7 separate regions of the Homo sapiens genome follow, and regions 1, 2, 3, 4, 5 and 6 are each linked to region 7. The links are contacts of gene promoters, found by promoter capture Hi-C in blood cells and fetal thymus (Javierre and others, 2016). All regions are on one chromosome and are shown on one strand. The core of a region is centred on a gene start or on the middle of the fragment in contact, and the rest is flanking DNA. Distances in the headings are between cores, read along the strand shown. Region 1 overlaps CWC27 (CWC27 spliceosome associated cyclophilin). Region 2 overlaps CWC27 (CWC27 spliceosome associated cyclophilin). Region 3 overlaps CWC27 (CWC27 spliceosome associated cyclophilin). Region 4 overlaps CWC27 (CWC27 spliceosome associated cyclophilin). Region 5 overlaps SREK1 (splicing regulatory glutamic acid and lysine rich protein 1). Region 6 overlaps CWC27 (CWC27 spliceosome associated cyclophilin). Region 7 holds the start of ADAMTS6 (ADAM metallopeptidase with thrombospondin type 1 motif 6).

Region 1 (2,809 bases), core at 290-2,789, 650 kb after region 7:
TGAGGCCTTCTGTGTAGTTCTAACGGTATTCCATGTATTTTACATATATACACACATTTGTATATGTATACAAATGTAAGTTACATATTTCTTTCTCGATACCTGTTTTTTTACTAGTAGAGTTCTAACAGATCCCAAATTAAATTTTTCAAATTGGGGAAAAATTAACATCAATTATAGCCTGTTTCTGGAGGGAAATTTTACCTATTCTAAATAACATACAAATAAAATTACAAACATGATCCATTCATAAGTTGAGTCAGTACTGACATTAAGCCATTAATTCTAAAATTGGAAATTGACTGAATTTCCTGGACCTAACAAATAATCTCACAAGAAAAAGAATAAAACACATGAGTCATAAAAGGTAGAAGTTAGGCTTGTTTTTAGAAAATTCAAATCATGAAAAATCATTTTATAAGAAATGACATTAGCAATCTAACTATCCTGTTATAATACAATCTGGTTCAAATAAATACAGAAATTTTAAAAATCACATTTTCATTTTGTACATTGATATTATCATTTGCATGATCACAGATTCAACATTCACTCATTCCATTAAATAAATGGTTGAATATTTACCATATACCTCATACCACAGATGGCTGTGATCAGCTTCTCTAGGTGGCTTCCTGCCCTTTTGCTTGCATGTACTCTTTTGATTAACTATTTTATGGGTAGAGGGAAATAATGTGAATATAGTAACTGTTTCTGAATTTGATGTGTTGTTGTAAACTGGTGAGTGGCCTGGGAACTTTCAGAGGATAGTACAGGTAAAACTAAGCCAGATTTACATTCAGACTCAGATGACCTAGGTTGTCAATAACAAAATAATCTTGAACAAGTCACTTATCTTCTATTCATAAAAGCTTTATCTGTAAAATAAGGAAACTGGGTACTATTCTCTGAATGTTTACAATCTGTCTTGGGCCTCTTTTATAAGGGCATTAATCCTACTTATAAAAGAGGCCCAAGAGAGGTCTCAAGCCCCCTCTGCCATTTGAGGATGCAGCAAAAGACAGCTGCCTATGAACAAGGAAGTGAGCACTCACTAGACATTAAATCTGCCAGTGCCTGAATCTTGGACTTCCCAGCCTCCAGAACTGTGAGAAAAAAAAAATTCAGTTATTTATAAGCCAGCCGGACTATGGTATTTTGTTATAGGAGTCCAAACGGACTAAGACACTGGGAGACAGTTAATATGGTTCTTTCAACTTTAAACTTCCATAATTCTATTTAGGTGCTGTAAACATTTGGCATAGGAAGATTAAGTGGGACAGAGGATTAAGTACTACTTAATAGGAAAACAATGGTAGTATAAATGACTCATCCTAGCTACTTTAAAAATGCCTAATACATTTTTCTTAAATTAAAAATGTCACATAGTAAAATGAACGCATTCAGAAAGAATCACCTGAAAAATTCTGAAAATTATTAGAGAATACATAGTCCCCCTGCCTTATCCAAGAGGGATACATTCCAAGACTCCCAGTGGATAAAACTGCGGAAAGCACGCATAGTATAAAACCCCATATATACTATGTTTCTCAATTTGATACCAAGATGGCTACTACTAAGTGACTACCAGGCAGCTAGCATATAAAGCATGGATACATTGCACAAAGGAACGATTCTTATCTTGGGCAGCACAAAGCAGGATGGTGTAAGATTTCATCACACTACTCAGAACAGCATGCAATTTAAAACTTATGAATTATATATTTCTGGAATTTTCCATTTAATATTTCTGGACTGTGGGCAATCAAAACTATGGAAAGCAAAACCATGGATATAGGTCGACTACTGTGTCCTCAATAAGTATGTAGTATCTTGAAAACAGAAAAAGAGAATATGATATAATATAATTTAAATAGCTACAATTTATTAAATGCCTACTAATTCATATTAGCATTACAACAATCTGGTAAAATAGCTGTTTTTATTTCTGTTTTAAAATAAGGAAACTGAGGATCAGAGATTAAATAAGTCAGGCAAAGATACTAAGTTAAAAAGTGGTACAGCTGGTATTCCAACCTGGATGTGTTTAACTCCAAAGCAATACTCCTTCCTCTATAAAAATGTAGTATTCCTGATTCCTACAAACAAGTCCTTTTTTTATAGTCAAGTTTCAATTGCTAATGGTAATGGGAAAAGAAACAACATGGAAAAATAAAACTCATGCAAACGTGGTATAAAAGCTTATGACATGGGATAAATTCCAGTACGATGAGTTCTGAGGCTAGGTAAGATACTGGGTCAGATGGTTCTAGGTACCTTCCAAATCTCAAATGTGAATAATATTCTCAATTCATTGAAACTTAAACAGATTATCTACTCCATTTTCCTACTCATTAGAGAAGTTTACAATTTTGTGTTAAATGAATTGTAAATTAAATACAAATATCAAGTATGTTATTTAGAGGATTGGGGGAATCTTCTAAGGAAAGGATGCGAAGACCTGCTATGTTAACTTTCTATTTTCTTTCAATGCGCTTGTTTAAAAGAAAAACACATTGAAAATTCAAAAGGCAATTTTAACCTAGGTTACTACAATTTGCTTAAAAGTGGGAAAAAATTGTTCCAGAGAAGAATATGCTGATTTGCTTTTTCATTTCCATTTACTTTTTCTTTTCTTAGGGTGAGACAACAAAATTGCCACACACATATACACACAATGCTCTGAAGAAAATTAAGGAGGACACGTCCAAGAAAATTTACCAACTAAAAATTTATCTTGGATAATGAAAAGGAAACTAAGATTTCTAAGTATTATACAGGATAAAACTGAAAGCAGAAGACATGAAAC
Region 2 (2,923 bases), core at 226-2,725, 640 kb after region 7:
TTTTCTTTTTTTTTTTTTTTTTTGAGATGGAGTCTTATTCTGTCACCCAGACTGGAGTGCAGTGGTGTGATCCTGGCTCACTGCAACCTCCACCTCCTGGATTCAAGCGATTCTCCTGTCTCAGCCTACCGAGTAGCTGGGATTACAGGTGCATGCCACCACGCTCAGCTAATTTTTGTATTTTTAGTAGAGATAGGGTCTCACCATATTGGCCAGGCTGGTCTCAAACTCCTGACCTCAAGTGATCCGCCTGCCTCGGCCTCCCAAAGTGCTGGGATTACAAGCATGAGCCACTGTGCCCGGCCTATTGCCATTTTCTTAGTTTTTTTCTGGATGTTTGGTAAATAATTTTTTTTGTCTTCCTCCCTTGCTGTCTTCCTTTGTGATTTGATGGTTTTCTATAGTGGTATGCTTTGAATCCTTTCTATTTTTGCTTTATATTTCCACTAAAGATTTTTGCTTTGTGATTACCATGAGGTTTACACAGAACATCTTATAAACAATCAAGTATAAACTGATAACAGCTTATAAACAATCAAGTATAAGCTGATAACAACTTAACTTTGCATACAACAATTAACTTTGCATACAACAATTCTATACTTTTTCATACCCCCTCAACATTATGTTTTTAATGGCAGAATTTACATCATTTTTAATGTGTATACCTTGATAATTTATTTTAGCTATAGCTGCTATTAATATTTTTGTTTTTTGACTCATGTACTAGGGATGAAATTGCCTTATGCACCATTATTACAGTCCTACAGTTTTCTGAATATGGCACTATTTTACATATACCATTGAGTTTTGCAATTCATATGTTTCATGAAACTGAGGGAGAAAGTATTATTTCCTTCTCAATTATGAAAGATAGCTTTGCTGGGTTAAGTATTCTTGATTGGTAGTTTTTGTGTTTGTTTTCCTCCGGCATTTCAATTATATTATGCCACTCTCTCCTGGCCTACTGGGTTTCTGCTGGGAAATCTGCTGATAGTCATATTGTCTCCTTTGTATGTGATGTGTTTATTATCTCTTGCTGTTCTCAAAATGTTTTGTCTTTGATTTTTGACAGCTAGATTATTGTATGCCTTGGTGTACTCCTCTGTGTGTTGAATTTGATTGAAATTTCTGTGCTTCTTGTACCTGGATATTCACATCTATTCCCAGATTAGGGGATTTTTCAGTCATTCTTTCCTTAAATAGGCTTTGTGACCCTTTTTCTCTTTCTTCTTTTGCAAATCCTAGTATGCAAAGGTTTGAACTCTTGATGGTGTCTCATAAGTCCCATAAGCTTTCTTCATTCTTTTTCACTCTTTTGTCTTTCTGGTCCTCTAACTGGATAATATCAAATGCTGTCTTCCAGCTCATTGATTCTTTCTTCTGCTCTATCAAATCCACCAATGATGCTTTCTATTGAATTTTTCAGTTCAGTCATTGTATTCCTCAACTCTAGAATTTATATGTGTTTCTTTTATATTGTTTCTATTTCTGTCAAACTTGTTATTTTTGTTAGGTATCAGTTTCCAAATTTTATTACATTTTCTATCCATATATTCTTGTACATCACTGAACATCTTTATGAGTAGTATTCTAAATTCTTCCTCAGTCATTCCAAATATCTCCGTTTCTTTGGGGTCCATTACTGAAGCTTTATTAGTTTCTTTTGGGATTTCTTTTGTTCTTTGTAGTTCTTGTGTCCTTGTGTTATTGTCTATGCATTTGAGGAGAAAGCCCCCTCTTCTAGCCTTTACAATAGGTGTTCTTTGGCATGGATAGAGGTTCACTATTTAGTTTAGCCTGGGAAGGGCCAGCTGGTGATGATCCCAGGGAGTCAGAGCTTGTTGGGAGTTCTCTAATTTGCTGGGCAGATGCCTTTCCTCTGATGTTACATGGGGCTGCTGGATAGACTCCACTGTCTGGTGAGATCAGTGGCTGGGCTCTGCTATTAGGCAGAGTTAATGGCTAGAAACTGTGATGGCTTCTCATCAGGCCAGTTGCAAGTTGTATTCCCTGGATGGGCAATTCTGCTATTTGAGATCTGCAGTTGGGCCGGGCTGTAGGCTGGGCTCCAAGGTTAGGCAGAGTAATTTCCTGGGAGAGGAGAAATACCAGAAGCTGTACCCCTTAGAAATGCACAATTGAGGATTACCTCCCTATCAGGGTAGAGCCATGGGATTGCTTTGTGGCAGAGTTGAGTGGCTGTTTGACTGCCTGGGTCAAACAGGTCTAGGCTCTATGCTTCTCTAAGATGCGTGAAAGTGGAAATCTCCCTGCCTATGCAAAGTCACTGGAATGGCTTATTGGCTGAATGGAGCCACTGCTTGAGCACCCATGTCAAGTCAGTCTAGACCATTTAATTCTCTGAAATTCATAAAGGTGGAGAGTCTCTCTGCCTGGGTGGGGTTGTAAAGCAGGTTTTTTGGCTGAGGGTGAGGGGAGCTGCTGCTTGACTTCTCAAGTCAAACTGGTATAGACCCTTCACTTCTCCAAAATGGGAGGAAGTGGGCATCCCCCTGCATATGCAGGTCACAGAGGTGGGCTCTGAGGCTGGGTGGGAAACTAGCAGCCTAAGGACTCAAGCTAGGATGAACTTCCCATCTTCCTTCTCAAGGCAACTAGCTTAGCTTTGGGGGTCAACTATGAGGTTGGCTGGTATCTGTGACCAGGCATCACAGCTGTCAGGAACACAGAGGTACTGTCAAGATCCATGCACTGGTCAATATGACCTCTGCCTCCTTTATTTCTACCCGACTCCAGGCAGTCTAGCCATGCTGATTGCTTCGGAGTGGGTTTCATAAGAAGCATATCAGAATGCTAGGTATGCTGGATGACTGCATCCAATTCCCTTCCCCCCTGTTGAAATTCTGGGTTCAGGGAAAAAAATCTCCATCTGGTGTTGTGCTTGACTTAAGGGAAGGGG
Region 3 (2,700 bases), core at 55-2,554, 670 kb after region 7:
GGTGATGGGTATATGGATATATTTAGTTTGTAAAAATTCAGCTAGCTGTATACTTATGTGCACTATGAAATATAGTTAATAGACACATTGTTTGTATATTATACTTAAATTAAAAGTTTAAAAGTTAAAGAAGGATCTTCCCAGACTTTACCTCAGACCAGACAATTCTGAATCTGTGGGTGAGGGGCCTACGAATTAGTATTTTTCAAAGCCTCCTCCGTGAGCCTAATGTGCGGTTAGGAGTGAAAACCACTCCTATAATGGAACATAATTAATTAAATATTTTATTTATCCACTCATTCCACAAAGTTTAATGACCAGTTACTATATGCTTAAGATATTAGCCGCCTCTGAGGATATAAAGATAAATAAGACATAGTCTCTAAAGAGCTTAGTTTAGGCAGAGGAGAGGCGAATCAATAAATCCCTATTGAAAATACAAGCAAGCTACTTACAAGATCCAGAGGAGAAAGTGATTTGCCAAAGAAGAATTTATTCATTTTTTGTTCATGTATTTACAAAAATATTTGGGTACCTACGCTGTTTGAACATGGAGATACAAATGTAAATGGATATGATCACTACCTTCAAGAAAGTTACAGTATAAGGATACACAAAGAAGAAAAAATGTATATGTAACCTAATATTACAGGAGTGTGAAAAGGGTGCACATAGGTTTGCACTAAGGAGTCAGGGAATATAGTACCAACTTGCTGACAACTTGCTGACCTTGGAACTAACATGATACAAACTTGAACTCATCCAGGAGCAGTAGGGATAAAAATTAATATTCTACAGGACTGCTTCTCAAACTAATGCACACAAAAATCACCTGGGGATCTTGTTAGAATGCAGATTCTAATTAAAAATGTGTAGGACAGGGCCTGAGACTCGGTATTTCTAACAAGTTCCCAAGTGATACTAATGCTACTGCTTCACAGATCACACTTTAAATAGTAAGGTTCTTGAGAGAGATTAGTCTCAAGAGAAAAGAGACAAAAATCTCCAGAGCAGGAAGACCAAGAAAAAAAAATGGAAAGTAGCCAGTCGATTATCAACTAGATGGCCTTAGTGGAAGTAGTTTCAGTGGAGTGGTAGGTGAGAAGCTAGATGATATGTATTTAGAAATAAATAGGAAGGAGGTAGGGACAGGAAATAAAATGGAATGGTTTTGTTAGTTTTTACTCTCGAAGCGGGGAAGAGAAAGAAATACGGGTTGAAGAAATTTACTCTCATTTCATAAAAAAACAAGCAGCCAGGTGATCCGTTGAGTGAGTTTGAAGTGTGAAGTAAACATTGTGGCGAGTGAGTAATAAGGAAGCACTGGAGACACAGCTGAGGCTGGAATCTAGAAATCCATAATAATACCAGCTTGTATATGCCTGTGTGATTCTGCTGAGCTGTATCCAGTAGTCAAGATACAGGCATAGAGAAGGTGGGCTGGAAAGAAAGTGGGATTGGTACATTTTAAAAAGGGAAGAGACAAGGGATTAGAAATCCTAGGAAGTCAGAATAGATATAAGGGTGCCGATTCTCTAAGGAGAGAAACTAGGAAGCGTTTTGGATTTGTATTTCCCCTGAGCTCTTTTTTCAAATGAACAACTAGAGACATTGTTGAGAACACATTACTAGGAGAAGATCCTACTATATGTAAACTTGTTGAAAATTATTCTGTTAAATATCATTCCCCAGTTTAAATATTAAGCACTCAATAAATACATGTGTAGGTTTAACATCCAAAAGTGATAACCAGCTTTAACAGATTCCAGATGTTTCCTTACCAATAGAAGCAATACCACACGTTTTCAGTAAAATTATACTTTGAACGGCTCATTGCTTAAAGGGCTGGTGGGCTAGTCTAGTTTCTGATCCTACTGCTTAAATGGAAGAATGACCAAAGGATAATAGAGTACTTCAAGCACACCCTGATGAAAACTCATGTATCAAGAGTACACATTTTTGAATAGATAATGATATCACACTGACATCCTATCTGGCTGGCAGCTATACCCATTATAACTCAAACTGAGCAGTGACTTTCCTTTAAATATAATTATCCCTTTTACCACGTTGTAGTTTTTCAGTACATTTGGAGCTTTCCTGTGTTGTTTTATTTTTTAACCATAAAGTTAACTTCAGAGACTCGCTGGTATAAATAACCAAAAGTACTAATGATTTGGAAATTTATTAAAATTTATTTTTATTTTTTTAGAGACAGGGTCTTGCTCTGTTGCCCATACAGGATCATAGCTCACTGCAGCCTAGAGCTCCTAGGCTCAAGCAATCCTCCCACCTCAGCCTGCTGAGCAGCTGGGATTACAGGCATGAGCCACCATGCCAGGGTCTGATTTTGGCAACTTTATGAACTGAAAAAAATACGTGGTCATGAGACAATCATGGAAATTTCTACACTAGAGGAAAAAACTGTTTCTTCCTTTTGAAATTCTGTACTTTCTCCTCTATCCTGACCTTATTTTTCTTTTGTTTCTCTTTGTAGGTAGGACAGATAGGATGAAGGAGGGAGAGTAGAGAATGTGAATAATGAAAATGTGGGGGAACAGAACAGTTATAAATAAATGTGTGCTGTCTGCACCATTTACAAAGGCACACTTTGCCAATTATTTTACCTAAAAGAATCCAACAATGTCCACAATACTCATGTTTACCTAAAATATTCAAGCCACCTTTGGAGACTTCTTA
Region 4 (2,700 bases), core at 152-2,651, 690 kb after region 7:
GGAATACAAAGTCACAAAATAAGAAGTTTGAGAAGAAAAAGATAGTGAGTTAAGACTTCCCCAGGGCTTGATAAACTAATGTCCAATAAGCAGCTGGAGAAAAGAAGAGTAAACCAGCCTAGAGATATAGACGTGAGAGTCAGATACAAGCATTTGATGATAACTTAATTACAAAGCACCCCCTACGAAAGAGCCAGATGAGAAAACTATGATGACACAATACTAGGATAATAATATTCATTTGATAATGAACGGTATTTGGGTTGTAATTTTCTTGGCAGAGAGAAAAGATTTTACTCAGTCCTTCTAAAAGTATTTAAAGTGTTTTTCAGGTTTAAGAAAGAAAAAAAAAAAGACAGCACTATCTGTGCTGCTATCCTTGTACATTTCAATCTGAAACGCAAATTGCTTTTGGAGTATAAGTTCACAATATTCAGTATAATGTAAACATACCATTTTTCTATTTTGTACAGTAGAAAGCAGCAGAAGGAAGATAATCTTTGAACATTTAACACATGCTGCTGTTACAAATAGAAAAAATTCAAACTAATTTCCTAGTCAAGTCTATCTCAAAGCAATTGTGAACAAAACTTACTTTAGACTAGAAATTTAACTTCAACAAAAAACTGACAGAAAAACTTTCTCCTGCCCTTGCTCTCCAAGGCTGCTCAACCTAACTATCCAGGACCCTGTGGGATTTAGGGAAGGACAACGGGCCAACTGCCTTCCCCAGCTGCCTTCTACCCCAGAATGCTACGCTACCAGTGAAATTTCTCACCAACCTTTGAGACGTCTTGGGCTTGAAGGAGACAGCTTCTACAGCATTCATAATCATATGAGAGACTTAACTAGCTAAAAAAACCCTCAGTTCAAAATTCTGATTCTACCACCTCTTAATTGCATGATCATGGATGAGTTATTTAACCCTCTCTGAGTTTCACTTTCTTTATTCTACAAAATAAGAAAAATAATATCTATATTGCATGGTTGTTATAGGGATTACATAAAATAAATAGTATAGTTAGCAGATAAGAAGATAAATTATTGTAATGCAGTAGGATAAATGTTTTGATGGGCATAGACAGATTATCATGGAAAGAAGTACCTAGCTTAGCCTGGATGGGAGTTCAGTGGCAGGGGGAGGTAGAAGTAGTAGAAGGTGATAGTAGACCTAAATCTTAAAGGAAAAACACTTTAAGGAGAGAGCATACTCCTGGCAAAAGGAAAAACAGGGGTGGGGGAACTGTGAGGAAAGTATGGGTATGCAAGGAAACTTGACATCTTTAGAAAACATCAATGAAAAGGAACCCTGGCAATTTCTAGATCTAACATTCATGGTTTTGTCCATTCACAAACATAACCACAGAATCATGACACATAGTAAATCATTTTGATGAGGCATAAATTTGAATCATAAACAATGCAAGACTAGTGCACTGACATCTAAAGAAGATGACTCTTCAGATATTGAGGTGACAGAGTGATTGGTGACGTTAAGGAATTGGGAAATGAAGTTTTTGTAAAAAAATGAATTTAGTTTTGACATCTAGAGACCTTTCCTAAAGCAACTCTGAACAAGGGATAAGAGCCCAGGAGAAATATTTGGCCTTATCTCCTAGAGTTTAGAATGTTGGTGTACAGGTAAATGGAAATTGAATCCATGGCATCAAATACATCACTCAAGGATACAATAAAAAGCAACAAAAAGTTATGACCAAAATATTTCATATACACACCATTTTAATTACATTTTAATGCAAGGGGTATTAAGTAGAGTGCTTACTAGGCGTCCAACATTAGCCTGCAAAACCGTGCTCACTAATAAGGGAACATATGGCTAAAGAAGTAAAAACAAGAATAATAATAATATGCTTTTAATTCAATGTTATTGTTAGAGTTGGTAAGAAATAGATAATTATGTTAAGCAAGTAAGGCTTATAGGTTATAAAGTTTTAATTACAACAATAAAGACTATAAACCTAATCCTTTAGTTCTCAGTATTCACTAATTTTCAAAAAAGAAAGGCATATCAGAACCTTTAGGAGTAGAAACCCTTGAAGACAGTTTTCTTGTAGTATACACACCAGAATTACTGCTCTAAACAATGGCATGACACCGTGTTTCAGTAATGCGTATTATGATGCAAGCAATATTGAAGAAAACCACATGTAAAGGCCTACAGGAAGGACTAGCAGAATAAAAAGGCCAGGAGGCACTGCATAATTCAAGGACATGGATTTAATAGTTACAAAGACCTGCGTTCAGTTCCCATCTGTAGCTACTTATTGGTTATGTTACTTTGAGCAAATTATAAACTATAGCTGAATGTATTCATGAGTAAAATGAGGATGATAATAATATCACCCATCTCAAAGGGCTGTAATGAGAATTAATGAAATAAACAAAATATATATAAATAACATTAAAATGAATATAAGAGTTTTGGTCTGTGACTGTTTATATCAGTAATGATAATAATCATTATCATCTAACATACTACCTGAAAAAATAGCAGTTAGGATCTGAATCATAAAGTCCAACCATTCAAAAAACTGCAAGTCTAGTTCAAACTGATTTTTTTAAAATGCCAACATTAAAAATAAATAGGATAATCTCAAAAGTTGCAAATATTACTGACCACAAATCAATTTACAAATTCAATGAACACTTACTGAGCCTGCCCCATGTAAAACATGCTGT
Region 5 (2,878 bases), core at 162-2,661, 670 kb before region 7:
AACTCCCATTTTGAATGCTAATTCCACTCTTCTTCAAGGCTCAAATTTCCAAGTCTTCTGGTAAACCATCTTAAGATACCGCAATCATTAGGTACAGCCTCCTACATGTGCTACCAAGACATTCTATATTGCTTTGGCACAGGCCTTAGCACGGTTTCCTCATGTGAAACCCTCAAAAGATCCTATAAGCTTCTCTAGCCATAAATGATTAGTCACCAGTCTCAAGGGCCCATTTCCCTGGCTGACCAGCAACCTCTAATTTTGGAAGTCAGGCTCGACCAAATGAGCTAGATCAATCAATCAGGTTCTCTCTATTGGGCTGGAAGGTGACTTACAGCAAGCTGTAAGCCAGATGATGAGTACATAATAGGTATGCAAAGAAATGGAGTAGATAGAAACAAACTGAACTGATAATAACCACTGCAGAGAAAGAAGCAGATAGTCATCTTGATTGCTGATACCCTTCTGGTTCCCAGTACTAGTTCCCATGAGGCCTGGCTGTACTACAATCTTTATTTTTCAACGCAGTGAAATCTTTCTTTTTAATAATAATGTCTCTTCTCGATGTACCTTGGGTAACACTGTTTCTGTCCTTTTTAACCAAAAACAATCTGTGATTATAATAACCTACTAAAGCCCTAGCAATTCCAACAGGAATAACTCTTTTGCCTCTGAAATCTTCAAGAGCCTGACAGTCATCTCTGAAGCAACATTTCCTAAACTGACGGATCCTTTTGTGAAGGAATGTAAATGTTAAGTAAGCACTACTGAAAACTAAAACCACATTTCCAAATACCCCTAGTTGAAATCTACTTCATTTCAAACTTAAAACATCCACAGGAATAGGAATTCTGAGTCTGGTTTGTAATGCAACTACATCTGAAGACATGCCACCAACATTTCAGAAGCCTGGGAACTGGTTAAAAAAATGTTGGTCTGTTCTGAACAGCATCATCATGGAAGTATGGATATTAGGTACGGCTACTCCACTGATTTAAGCAATTTTCTTTTCTTTTCTTTTCCTTTTTTTTTTGAGACAGAGTTTCACACTGTCACCCGAGCTGGAGTGCAATGGCGGGATCCCGGCTCACTGCAACCTCCGCCTCCCGGGTTCATGCGATTCTCCTGCCGCCTCCCAAGTAGCTGGGATAACAGGTGCACACCACCACACCCAGCTAATTTTTTGTATTTTTAGTAGAAACAAGATTTCACTATGTTGGCCAGACAGGTCTCGAACTCCTGACCTCGTGATCCGCCTGCCTCGGCTTCCCAAAGCGCTGGGATTACAGGCGTGGGCCACTGCACCCGGCCAATTTTCTTAATCTTCATTTCCAATTACCTTCCTTAAAATAAAGACCAACTTACATTTACTTTATAAAAATGCAAATATTTGAAAATTTCAGGCAAGGTAACACTATTTTATTTTGACCATTATAAACTAAAATTATTAGAGTAGCAAGCCAACAAACAGATAGCTCATCAAACAAATGTGTACTTGCTTGTGCCCAAGAGTTCAAGACCAGCCTGGGCAACAGAAGAAGACCTTGGGGGAAAAAAAAACACATAAAAAGGGATGACATATTCCATTTGGTCTAAATGTATGCATCTATAGAAACTAGCAGGCCAGGCACAGTGGCTCACATCTGTCACCCCAGCACTTTAGGATGCCAAAGCAGGCGGACTGCTTAAGCCCAGGAGTTTGAGTCCAGCCTGCGCAACATGGTGAAATCCTGTCTCTACTTAACTAAATAAATAAATAAAATTTTAGAAATAAATTTTAAGAAGAAAATAGCAGTACCCAAATTTAGCAGATTTTAGTTTGACCTCATTCGTTGACTTAAAGTTTTGGTTTTTTAAAATACAAAATCTTATCAATTTTTCAAAAAAAATTAAAACTTTTCAGTGGGTAGTACACGCAGAAACCAAAGAACCAACTTTTTGGGCATCAATTAAATTTCTTGGCCCTAACTGGTTATTTTGTCTTTTATTAAACATAATGATAGCACTATACAATATTTTTAAAACCAATGAGGTAATAATATGTCCAGTATTTTATCAGTACATTAATACACATCCTTTAGAGGACAGAGGACCTACCAAAAAAGATATGCCAAAACATGAGCGAAGCATACAGTATCATGTACAAAAATATTAGTTGGTGCATTATTTATAACAGGGTTTCTTCACTGGGCTTCAGTGGCCCTATGGATTAGCACAATTCATCCTGTTTAAGACTACTTATAAGTTGCTAACATTTACCCACTAAATGCCAACAGGCCCTCTAATCATTGTTGACAATCAAAAAGACACACCTCCCAATTTCTAGCTAAAATCCACTAATTTGTAATACCAAAAAAAGCAATCAAAATATCCAACAATAGAATTTCAAAAACACACAATACACTCAGAAATTACTAATCTCTAAATATTACTATAAATAAGACAGCAATATGGAAAATGCTTATGACAAAGTGAAAAAAGTAAAATAACAGTGTGATTCCTTTGATTACGCTATATTACATATATTACATAATGATAGCACTATACAATTATTTTTAAAACCAATGAGGTAATATGTCCAATATTTATTAACGCATGTGAAAAGGACTACAGGGAAATGGAGAGAAGCTTTGATAGAGTGGTGGGATCACAAGTGCTGTTTCCTTTTCTCTATTTTCTATAAAGTGGCTTTAGTGGTTACATTTTTTTTAACTAAATAAACTTAAGTAGTTGACAGATTTTTCCATTCTTTCTTAGAACTTTAGAAGACCAGAGAAGTGACGGAAATCAACAAGCAAAAAAAATCAACACAGGAAAAATGTCTAGTGTTACAAATCAGGGTAGGCTTACCCTTCAGGTTTTAGTTACTTGAAGGGGG
Region 6 (2,700 bases), core at 191-2,690, 620 kb after region 7:
AGCTTTTAAATCTAACTTATAGGTAGCAGAAAATACAGATGATAGAGGAACAAGTTACATGATGCTACATAGAAAAAAATCTAACAAGTCCAGAACGTGAGTCATTCTATACAGGACAACTAGCCCAACTTTATCAAGTCAAAGGTATGAGAAAAATTAAAAGGGTAGGAGATACTGAATATTTTTGTCCTTCCCATATTCATATGTTGAAACTTAATTCCCAGTGTGATGGTATTTGGAGGTGGGGACTTTGGAAGGTGAGTAGGTCCTGAGGGTGAAGCCCTCACAAATGGGTTTAATGCTCTTATAAAAAATCCCAGAAAGGTTTCTTATCCTGTCCACCACATGAGGACACAATGAGAAGATGGCCATCTATGAACCAGGAAATAGGCCCTCACGAGACACCAAATCTGCTAATGCCTTGATCTTGGACTTCTCAGCCTCAAGAACTGAGAGAAAGAAATTTCTCTTTTCTTGTTTATAAGCCACCCAGTTGATGGTATTTTGTTAAAGTAGCTTGAATGGTCTAAAGCAAAACTCAAGAGACTAAAAAAAATTCAACATGTAAACCTTGACTGGATCTGGACATATACAGACAAGCTATAAAAAACATTTTGCAAACACCTGGGAAAATTTGAATATGGGCTGGGTATTAGATGATTATTAGGGAATTATTAATTCATTACATATATGAATTTTAGTATGGTTATATAAGTTTTTCCATTTTAAGGTATTCATATTCATATTTTTAGTGGTAAAACATGACTTCTGTAATTTATTTCTGTGTTGAAGTATTTTAATGCAAATACAGCAAACTATCAATCATTGTTTAATCCAAGTGATAAGTATATGAGTGTTTTCTTCTAGGGTTTTGTTTGTTTTTGAGGAAGGGTATATTATATTTACTTCCTGATATGCCTAAATTATTTTTAATAAGATAAAAGATTATTTGCGCTGGCCATAGTAGCATGGAGTCCATAAATATGCAGTGTGGCTGTGTCAGCAACTGCAGAGGCAGATTCCTAGTAGTTACATTGTCAGGTAGGCAGTGCCTTGCATCCTGACTCAGCCTGGCTCTTTGGCCTTCCCGTACATTCCGTGGGTTTGCTGATATCATTTTGATATATTCATTTGTGACTTAAATTAGCAGAAAGGATTCTGTTATATGGCACCAACAACATGAAGCAATATACTATTTACATAAACCTACTTGATATCTAGCGCTCTGTGCTCTGCACACAAAACTTTCCCCTAAAATGGATTTTTAAATCCTCATACCAAGATGCACAGGATAAATACATGTATCTATGTAACATTAGAAGAATGACATTGTATTAAAATCGTTATCATATTTAGTCTTTAAATAGCATGATATTGAACATTTCTTTGGAAAGTAATGAGAATGATAGTTTAGTAACCTATATTCCTATAGCAATGCAACTATTACATGGAAGTATAATGTAAGGCAGCACAATGGCAGTTGAGACCTGGTATTATGTTGCTGTTAATGGAAGCACATAGAAGGACCTCAGTTCTAGGATATCCATTAGAAACAGTACTTACTCAAGTCTCTTCATTGTTTTAACTTTATTCATATATTAAAGGTTAATGTGGCAAAATGTAACAATTCACATAAATAGAAAAAGCATATATAAAAATGTCCTTGATTTTTAAATCAATCACTAAGTACAGAGTACCTGATATGAACACAGAAGTGTGCTAAGCATGTTTAGTCAACTGTTTTGGTACATTGGTGGTTTCCAGTGAACCATCACTTACACATAAGTATAAGTGTACAAGTGATTCATACCCTTGTATAGTCTCTTCCCACATTGACTCTAGGCCTGACCATGAGATACCTGCTAAGAAAAAACATAACTCTATAATAGAGAAGATTGGTTTTATATATATATATATCTGATTTGGCCACACAAAAAAATTCTGATGCAAGAAGAGGCTTGATCCTTATTAGTATGGTGGTGAGTGAAAAAAAAAAATAAGAAGAGGCTTGATAACTGCTAGGACATTAGAGTTGATACTTTAGGAATATGTCTTCTTAGAAACCGAGACCACCATGTTGTGAAAAAACCAAAGGTAGCACATGGAAAAGCCACACATGGAGAACTAAGCATTTGGTCCAACAGGCAGAGTCAAGGCTTGAGACATATGACCCTACGGGTTGAAACATCCACGGAGTATTCTAGGCAGCTCCTAACCATTTGAGGAGCCCCAACTAAGGTCCCAGATATTGCAGAACATTATGAACCATCCAATTTGTACCTTATCCAAATCTCTGACCTAAAAAAATTATGAGCTGCTTGTTTTAGTTACTGAGTTTGAGGTCATTTTTACACAGCAATAGATAACTGAAACGGGATTATACTATAATGTATAGTTATTTGTATGATGATAACATACCAAGAGCACTCACAGTTTATCAACTAATTATATATTTTGATGAAATTCATTAATATTTCAAACTCTGCAGATAAAGAGTTGGACCAAAGTACTTAAAGTTATGAAGAAATACAAGTGTTTACAGTATAACTTTAAAACACAGTTATATATGCAAAATACTCATTCAAAAATTTTATAAGAAATTTTAAGCCAGAAAGACTGATGTTATATCAACAGCATTAAAAAGTAGAGCTGATCCTAATGAGTTACTTATGTTGACTAGGTACCCATCATAAAACATGG
Region 7 (2,797 bases), core at 185-2,684:
CAGAAGAATTACACCTACTACCTCCGGCGTAGGAAGAAAAAAAAAAATCAAATGGGCAATAATGTTAGCAGAAGCTTGATATTTAAGAGCTGGTATTCAGAAAGATCATCCTTCCTACCCCCTTCCCTCCGGTCCAGTTCTCCTTTCTGGTTCTCACCATCGGAAATTGACTTGGCATTAACTAAGGGCTGGAATTTCAAGGCGTCAATTTTCCCCTGCCCCCAACCTCGGAAACTCTTAAACAGCTCCCTATTCTACACTCAATGGTAGAGACAGATAAATGATGCAGCAGATTACACCGTTGAAAGGCAACATTTGTCCTGAGCTATTTTCACATTTTTTCCTGTTTCCGATGTATGTGCCAGACTTTGTTTGCTTGCTTAGGACATGGAAAACACTGGGCATTTTCTCCCCAGCGGCTTTCATTCTCAGCAAATGAAAGTGAAAGTGCTACATTGTAGCGGTATTTTATCCTTAAAGTCTGGACTGGCAGCTTGTGTGTAGGGGGGAGGGAGGGTGGGATTGGGAAGGTTGAAGAACCAGTTTTGAGGTTTTGTTTGTTTATCTTGAGATCGCAGCAGGGTTCCTGTTTTTTTCCCTTCCTTTTTTTTTTTGGTGGTGGGGTCCTACTTCGGATTTATTTTCATTTGGGCAGTCATTGAAGTTTCATTCAATGGACTGACTTAAAAAAATACACTCCACTTGTGGCTTTTCCCGGTTGCACTTTAAAACACCATCCAGTCTCACCCTCATCTGGAAATAATGCAAGCTTCTCTCTTCCTTCCCCCGCTCCCTCCTCCCCTACTTTTTTTTTTTCTTCTTCTTCTTCTTTTAAAGCTCCACATAACCTGAAGTCGATAATCAAATGGAAAATGTGCTGGTATTAGTTTACTTTAGTTTACTTTCCCTTTTGGTGCTAACCTTACTTGCTGAAGTATGTATAAAACACAGGCATTTTGTACACTTGTAGCTACTGAGTCTTGTGCCTGCTGCACGAATCTAAGCTTTAAGTTTCCTCAGAGGCACTGTTTGCGTGCAAGTTTTAACATTTTGATTGTGTGGATTTTAAAAATAAAATTACACGGAGAATGACACCAGAGATCTTAACAGTGACATTAGTCCATCTAAAGTCATTCATCCTTCTCCCTCCCCCTTCATTTTTCCAAGAAACAACTAATAGCAAACCAGGCTAGAATTTCTAAGAGAGTTTAGAGGAGGAGGAGGAAAAGAGGCGGAATGAGATAGGACAGAGAGGTTAGAGAGGCCAGAATTTCTCTCATTCACAGTGTGGAAAAGTTGACATTGTCTAAGCCCTTCTGAATGGCTGGTAGTTGGTTACCCCGATTGTACCTCTACCTCCCCTCCCCCTCCACGTGACGACCCAGGACACATGCGCACCCGACGCAGCCCAGGCACATCTGCAGACTGACGTCAGTGTGCTCTGCCTCCGAGGAAAAGCTGCCAAAATTTTCTCCTGCTGCAATTCAAGTTGGCTGGGGGCCGGTAGTGAGATCTAGGGCTACTTCAACAAAACTTTGCTGCCCTTCCTGCTCCTCTTGTCTTCTTTTCTCCTGATACCTTTTGATGCTCTGCACATGTTATTTGCATAGCAAAGGCACTAAGCTTTCCAGGAAGAGAGGGCACCACTTCCACCCCCAATAAGTCTTTTTTCCCGTCTTTTCTTTCTTTTCCTTTCCTTTTTTGGGGGGTGGGGAGGGAGAGAAAGGGGGTTTGCAAAGGCAGCATCTCAGAGTGATAGCCTAGATGTATTGAAGGCATCTCTTATTCTGCCAAATCGGAAAGTCAGTTCTCTAAAGCCCGGGTTAGCCAGACCATAGGGTTTTATTCTGGCTGCAGAATAACTGGCTGGTGTGGCTTTGCAAAGGGGGGCAAAAAATAAAAAAATAAAAAAAATTAAAAAAAGTTAGAGAGGAGAGGGAGTACGTGAGTCGTCCAGTGCAATCTCTATTGTCTGAAACTTACTTTTTATCAGAATTTGAAGATGAAAACGGTAAGGAAGACTTAACAATATTCAATGGAGCTTTTTTTTTTTAAACCAACAACTTGTGCTTTGCTTGTCTTCCGAATAACGCTTAGAAAACTTTTTTTCTGTGTGTGTGTTTTTTTTTTTTTTTTTAATGGCAATGAGTGAGCTTGACTGAACTCATTTTACAAATAGATATCTTTTTAACTCCAGACTTGTCGGGGGTTGTAGAATTCTGGGACTTGCAGTTATTTTATGATGCAAAAAAAATACGTTTATTTTATGAATATACAATACATGTTTTGTGAAGTGGACTTGATTATGATTATTGTAATCTTTTAACTGATCACCAAATAGTAATCCGGAAGGTAATAATGATGTGTGTGTTTTAAATTGATTTCCAGTTTTCTTACAGAAAAGTCTTATGCATTTTGTAGTTTCATGTCAGTGTCGTTAAGTCTTCAGACAAGTGCATATTTTATGCCTGGGCTCAGAGGGTAGCATTAATGTGCTAGCTGTAGCCCCGATGCTCTAGGACATGTTAAGCTCTTAATAGGCTAATCAAAGAGATGGAAACGTGTGTTTTTGATTTACTTTTGGCCACTTGGGACGTGCTAGACTCATAACCCTCCGGAGCCTTGTTTATCGGGGTAGGTCTGTATATATGGTGTATGGGACCAAAGTTCAGGGATTGAGGAGGGAGAGTGAGAGTGCAGGAATGGGGTATTGGGAAGCCTCTTTCTGATAATATGTGCTACAATTCCTGTCTTTGATGCTTTCTTTCCCTGTACTAGAGGAAAAGTGAGCGAGAGA

Evidence for each region. Contacts are between HindIII fragments. The CHiCAGO score rates a contact against its expected background, and 5 or more counts as called.
Region 1: a contact is called between a fragment that was not itself captured here and the fragment with the promoter of ADAMTS6 in region 7, in 16 of 17 cell types (M0 macrophages, megakaryocytes, non-activated CD4 T cells and 13 more). The highest score is 22.0, in M0 macrophages.
Region 2: a fragment that was not itself captured here is called in contact with the fragment with the promoter of ADAMTS6 in region 7 in 13 of 17 cell types (erythroblasts, total CD8 T cells, naive CD8 T cells and 10 more); the score reaches 10.9 in erythroblasts.
Region 3: a contact is called between a fragment that was not itself captured here and the fragment with the promoter of ADAMTS6 in region 7, in 16 of 17 cell types (M0 macrophages, M1 macrophages, M2 macrophages and 13 more). The highest score is 40.4, in M0 macrophages.
Region 4: a contact is called between a fragment that was not itself captured here and the fragment with the promoter of ADAMTS6 in region 7, in 16 of 17 cell types (M0 macrophages, M2 macrophages, megakaryocytes and 13 more). The highest score is 23.3, in M0 macrophages.
Region 5: a contact is called between a fragment that was not itself captured here and the fragment with the promoter of ADAMTS6 in region 7, in 1 of 17 cell types (fetal thymus). The highest score is 5.4, in fetal thymus.
Region 6: a fragment that was not itself captured here is called in contact with the fragment with the promoter of ADAMTS6 in region 7 in 3 of 17 cell types (M0 macrophages, activated CD4 T cells and naive CD8 T cells); the score reaches 8.7 in M0 macrophages.

Annotation. Positions count from the first base shown.
Region 1 is chr5:64,826,745-64,829,553 of GRCh38, reverse strand. All of the region lies in intron 10 of CWC27 (CWC27 spliceosome associated cyclophilin), which reads right to left. Among named protein-coding and RNA genes, the nearest start is that of CWC27, 59 kb to the right of the region's middle. The HindIII fragment of the contact is 1,329 bases long and covers 875-2,203 here.
Region 2 is chr5:64,844,094-64,847,016 of GRCh38, reverse strand. The region is part of intron 10 of CWC27 (CWC27 spliceosome associated cyclophilin); the gene reads right to left. Among named protein-coding and RNA genes, the nearest start is that of CWC27, 77 kb to the right of the region's middle. The HindIII fragment of the contact is 357 bases long and covers 1,297-1,653 here.
Region 3 is chr5:64,806,339-64,809,038 of GRCh38, reverse strand. The region is part of intron 10 of CWC27 (CWC27 spliceosome associated cyclophilin); the gene reads right to left. Among named protein-coding and RNA genes, the nearest start is that of CWC27, 39 kb to the right of the region's middle. The HindIII fragment of the contact is 3,254 bases long and covers 1-2,700 here.
Region 4 is chr5:64,789,109-64,791,808 of GRCh38, reverse strand. All of the region lies in intron 7 of CWC27 (CWC27 spliceosome associated cyclophilin), which reads right to left. Among named protein-coding and RNA genes, the nearest start is that of CWC27, 22 kb to the right of the region's middle. The HindIII fragment of the contact is 3,301 bases long and covers 1-2,700 here.
Region 5 is chr5:66,147,505-66,150,382 of GRCh38, reverse strand. All of the region lies in intron 1 of SREK1 (splicing regulatory glutamic acid and lysine rich protein 1), which reads right to left. Among named protein-coding and RNA genes, the nearest start is that of SREK1, 4.6 kb to the right of the region's middle. The HindIII fragment of the contact is 2,439 bases long and covers 192-2,630 here.
Region 6 is chr5:64,860,551-64,863,250 of GRCh38, reverse strand. The region is part of intron 10 of CWC27 (CWC27 spliceosome associated cyclophilin); the gene reads right to left. Among named protein-coding and RNA genes, the nearest start is that of CWC27, 93 kb to the right of the region's middle. The HindIII fragment of the contact is 2,872 bases long and covers 5-2,700 here.
Region 7 is chr5:65,480,557-65,483,353 of GRCh38, reverse strand. ADAMTS6 (ADAM metallopeptidase with thrombospondin type 1 motif 6) reads left to right here and starts at 1,434. Exons shown (of 25, transcript NM_197941.4): 1 at 1,434-2,011. RefSeq lists enhancers at 1,232-1,281, 1,055-1,554, 1,322-1,681. The HindIII fragment of the contact is 619 bases long and covers 1,007-1,625 here.